Regions from separate parts of the Homo sapiens genome. Here region 2 is linked to region 1. The links are contacts of gene promoters, found by promoter capture Hi-C in human tissues and cell types (Jung and others, 2019). All regions are on one chromosome and are shown on one strand. Each heading gives the region's core, a stretch centred on a gene start or on the middle of the fragment in contact. The rest is flanking DNA. Distances are from core to core; before and after follow the strand shown. Region 1 holds the start of ATP10B (ATPase phospholipid transporting 10B (putative)). Region 2 overlaps ATP10B (ATPase phospholipid transporting 10B (putative)).

The links. The method cuts DNA at HindIII sites, captures the fragments that hold promoters and counts their contacts. A contact is called where the count stands out against the background at its distance.
Region 2: a fragment that was not itself captured here is called in contact with the fragment with the promoter of ATP10B in region 1 in 1 of the 25 tissues and cell types used here (dorsolateral prefrontal cortex).

Annotation. Positions count from the first base shown.
Region 1 is chr5:160,850,942-160,853,667 of GRCh38, forward strand. ATP10B (ATPase phospholipid transporting 10B (putative)) reads right to left here and starts at 1,270. Exons shown (of 26, transcript NM_025153.3): 1 at 1,000-1,270. The HindIII fragment of the contact is 6,864 bases long and covers 1-2,726 here.
Region 2 is chr5:160,650,637-160,653,336 of GRCh38, forward strand. All of the region lies in intron 7 of ATP10B (ATPase phospholipid transporting 10B (putative)), which reads right to left. Among named protein-coding and RNA genes, the nearest start is that of MIR146A, 170 kb to the left of the region's middle. The HindIII fragment of the contact is 3,316 bases long and covers 1-2,700 here.

The DNA.
Region 1 (2,726 bases), core at 20-2,519:
GAAAACAACATCTGTGATCTGCCTGATTAATGGCTTAATGTAACTGTATGTCTGTTAATGGAATAATACTCCAAGCAGTCTTGACTGTACATTTGCAAGATCTGGAAACAGAGAAGAAACTGTGGAAGAAGGAAGTAGCAGAGTGCCAGATTGGCTTTGGGAGGTCAAGCTCCTCTCTACAGTTTTCAAATTCTCCTCTGCCTACCTGGCAAATTCAGAGAAAATTGCCTGGCAAATTCAGAGAAAAACCAAGTTCCACCAGACACAGGCATGCACTCCTGTAGGCAAAATAACTAGCAGCTCAGTATAATTTTTATTTTTAACATTACTTTTCACCTTAGGGTTAGGGATAGTGTCACTCCAGCCTTAATAGCAGGCCACAGGACTGTCCTAAATGTATTCATCACAGACCTGCATGCATGGGGCTTTTTTATTTTTTTTCTGGAAGGAGTAACTCATACTTAGGGAAAAAACACATTTTTCTTTAAGCAACAGTTTTCTCCTTTGAACTCAAAGGAAAGTCAAGCTTCCCACCTATAGTTGAAAACTACTGCAATATGGCAGCTTCAGAGTTTATCAAGATGAAATTGGGAAGCCATGTAATGATCTCATTCTCTTCCTCAAAGCTATAGTTTCTTTCTGCTTTGAGAAGAAGGCTGTAACTCCATCTGCTTCCTCAGGCTGCACTGGATGAATGCAGGATAGCAGGATATATTATTTATCATAAAATGTATTCAGGCACATTCAGACTGCAAGCCCTGTTGAGTGAGGAAGTAGCATTTGCCATCAGCTTATCATAATGAAATCAATTGACGAAAAATAAAACATTCTGTTAGAAAAGAAATGTGGATCTCGCACCCAGAAAGCCAAATGAAATTTCAAATGCAGTGTAAAGAAAAGTAGTCATATCCTGGGCCTAATTCAGAACTTAGACTTGATGATTCTAAGAGGCAATTACTCCCCCATTATATAGGTTAAGGCCAGGATGCTTTTACTTACCCCAGCAAAGCTGACGTCCCTATTGAGCAGACTCCAGTAGAAGAAAACAGTGCTTGAAAGTGGCGGTATTTCTCTCGCACACCTTGGCTAAAATAGTTCTCTTTCCTATGGAATTTTTCATTTTTCTGATTATATCTGATTATGTCAAGGCAAGGCCTCAAGCTAACACTCCCTCAGAAACTTAGAGAAGATGACACACTGAAAAGAAATAACTGTGACCAATGAAAGAAAAAGGAAAAATAAGCTGCCTCGCTAGGCCCAAGAGTGAAAGAGAAGAATAGCAAGTCTGTGAATGTGAGGCCGAGTCCCAGAACAGTGAAGGCAGTGTTCTTCGACTTGGCTGAACATTTACATTGTTAGACATGGTTCTTGCATAAATTTCTACTTCCTGTGAATCAATGAGCCAGCAATATCAAAATTCATGGTGATTTTTATTCTCTACGCATGGTACAAAATGACTTTGTCCATCTACCTTTGGTAATGCATGTAATTAAGTGTGAGACAATTATAACCTTGCAGTTCTCTTTGGGGGGCCTGAAATATGATTCAGCTGCTGGGTTTCAAGGGCACTTAAGAAAGAAAAGACTCTCTACAGTGACTTTTATATGCATGCTGATGATGAATTTGCCCTCAAAGCTTCAGAAGTCTCATTTTGCAGTAGTCATAGTTTTTATTGATTACTGTTTGATTATACAAAATAAGGAAAGTGGGACCAATATATTATAGTGGCAGATTATGTGAATGGTGCAAACTTACAGAAAATCAGAATTAGTAATGGGCTTATTGATAGCTTCGATTCATACCCTAAAATGAGATTTTCATGTATAATCCTTTTATTAAGTTACCTACAACTCAACTAATTGGCATAAATGTCATGAGCAAGTTGCTGTATTGATGGATAATTATTGATGGGTCCATAAATAAAAGAGAAGGTAGAATGAGCAGTAAGTTGATTTTAAGGGTAGTAAAAAAAAGAAATATTACCAAACTTAGGAATAAAAGGTGTTGGAAAGAAGTGAACATACTAACTTCATGAAAATCTTTACATAAGATTTTGGTTGGTTGGTAGAGTAATTGTGAACTTTGTATGTACCTACAGATCTTATCAGAATACCAAGAAGAAACATGGACATAGGAAACATTTTACAAGAGAAGAAACACCCACACCATCTAAAATCTGCATCGCTGTGTGTGTAAGACACAAGCTAGGAATTTTTAAGAACATGAAATTTGCCTATGCTTTAGACAGTCTAGAATTTTTAAAAGAGCGAGTTGGCATTTCAAAATTCTCCATCTGCTAAAGAGAAGAATGCTTAAGTCCCTGTTCCTTTACTTCCCTTCACTCAGAGTGCTCTGGCTTCTAGGGACGAGTGTGGTCTAGAATCACAGATACGGTTAAATTGCAGAATATTGCACTAGTGGGTAACTGGAGGTTATTTAGTGAAGCCCCCTTGTGCCATGGAGGAGAATGCTGAAGCTCAGAGAAGTGAATACAATTGCTCAAAGCCAAACAGGAATTTGGTGGTGAACATGGGACCTCAAACCACATTGTCTTTCTCCTAAGACTAGTATATTTTCCATCACTGGTCTTTCTCCTAAGACCAGCTCTTTCCCATTATCACTTTCCTGGTAAAGAGAGAGGCACATGCAATTTAGGAACAAATGTGTCTGTAGCATCCCTTGGGTTTTCATGCTAACCAATGAATAGAGAGTCCTCAAATATGTTC
Region 2 (2,700 bases), core at 165-2,664, 200 kb before region 1:
AACTTACTGAGGCTCCAGAAGTAGGTCTTCAGGACCCAGACCTTAGTTATAGATTAAAAGAAGTTAATCACTTATGTCTTCAGATGAATGCACACTTACACGTAGGCATATAGCTTAGAAGGTATATAAACTCTGGAAAACTTTGTAACTTTGAGTTGGTCTGGCAATAACTTCCAGGCCTTCTCCCTGTAACTGGTTAGAGAAATAAAAACTCTCTTCCTCCCCAATTCATCTGCATCTTGTTATTGGGCCACGAGAAATAGCAGCCCAACCCTCAGTTTGGTCCAGGAGCAAAATTGACCATATTTCCTTTAATCGTTTCACCATTTAATAGGTATAGTGTTTCAATTTGTTTTGCTGTTATAAAAATGCTGTGAAAATAGTAGCTAATAGAGCAAAATAAATAGCATTTACTGGACACTTATTTCTGCCAGACACTGTAATAAGAACTTTATTATTTATTTTCAAGCTTACCGTCATTCTATGAAGTAGGAGCTTTAATTTGCCTTTCTTTAGAGATGGGAAATCTGTGACTGAAAGGTAAAGAAGGCTCCCCATGGTCAAACCTATTTAAATCTCATGGGCTGGGATTTTAATTCAAGTTCACCTGCAGACCCTCTACTCCTTACTTACTCAGCACATTGCTTCCTGGTGAACAGTCTTGTAGCTAAGTATTTTTTTTAAAGGCATTTCTGTTGTACAAACTCTTTTAGTCCAATGGGGATGAAACACAACTTGAGGTGGGGAGATCTTGCTTTCTGACTCTCCTCTACATTGACTAATCCTACGTTCAACTCATGAGCCTTCGTTTCTTCATCTGTAGAATGGGGCTAACATCACCTGCCCTGCCCATCTTAATTGTGCCTCAAAAAACAGAATCTATGTGTTAAAGTGTTGAAACATGTAACATTCCACCCAAACAGAAGGCAGCAGTGGTAAAGGTGGGATTGGAGATGGTTTCCTGGGTAGAGCTTTTAGCAAAGGGCGTGAGTTTATCACTGAAAGCTTCAAGGTACAGCTGTTCAAAGGGGTAAATTGATTAAAAGAAATGATAGCATTTTCTGGCTTCGTGTAAATATACTGTCCATTGGATTTGAGGGGGTGCCAACATAAATAAACTCTCTACTCACTTGAAATAAATTACCCATCCAGGAGTTTCTAAAAATATGGCCCTTTTCCCTCCAGGTATTGATTCTTTCAGGGACAAACACTTGCTGAGCTCCAAGATGATGACAAATCATGCTGTAATTTGTCAGCTGCTTTCATGCCCCTGATTAAGTCATGTGCTTCACTCCTGATCCACACCACTCAGCTCAGTGGTGGGTCTCTAAATCCAAACTCATTTCAGATATGACTGGCAGTGGGGTCTGAGCACTAATGATCCTTCTGTAATGCCTCGGAGTCCCTGCTGCCTGTTTAATCACACCTGCCGGGCCCCAGCAATGGTGAAGTTTGACTCTTGTTCCTCTGTTGGGGCTTCCTAGCCACCTCCCTCCTGAAATGTCCCTTCCTCCTGCTGTGTCTCCTTTCCTGCTGAGCACAGGACTTTTGTCCCCATCTTCCTCTTTTCATGAAAAGGTGACCCTGCTCTTTCTAGCTACTTGTCCCCTGGGCTCTCTTCTTCAGTTGGAGGAAGAGGGGCTGTGGAGAGGGGCATATGGGTCCTGCTGGCTGCAAAGACAACCACTGAGGCCCTGCTTGCTTTTAAGAATTTGCTGTATTTCCCTCCAGGGCAGCTGCTGGGCCAGCTCAAGACACAGAGAACTGCTGAGCCTTACAAACCTGTCAGGGTTCTTATTTATTTATTTATTTATTTATTTATTTATTTATTTATTTATTCGAGACAGGGTCTCACTCTGTCACCCAGGCTGCAGTGCAGTGGTGCGATCACAGCTCACTGTAGCCTCGACTTCCCGGGTTCAAACAATCTTCCCACCTCAGCCTCCTGAGTAGCTGGGACTACAGGCGTGCACCACCAGACCTGACGAATTTTATATTTTATAAAATAAAATTATATATGTATATATTATATATACATATATAAATACATATGTATAAATAATATATACATATATAATTTATATATAATATATACATATATTTATGTACTATACATGTACATATTATATACATAAATATAAATATATATAAAAATATATAATATATTATATAATATATTATATATTAATTATATATAATATATATTATAAAAAGATTATAAATTATATATAATATATATAATATATATATAATTATATAATATATTATATATACATGTATATATAATATATTATATATACATGTATATATAATATATTATATATACATGTATATATAATATATACATACATATTTATATTTATATATTATATATATTTATATTATATATTTATATATTTATATTTATGTATATAATTATGTATATATTTATGTATATATAGTGTATATATTATATATACACGTGTATATATAACATATACATGTATATATTATGTATACATAAATATATATTATAAATACATAATATATATTATATATACAATATATTATATATACAATATATTATATACTATATATCATATATACATACAAATATGTAGTATATATACATACGTAGTATATATACATACGTACATACATACATAGGTAGTATATATACATACGTACATACATACATAGGTAGTATATATACATACGTAC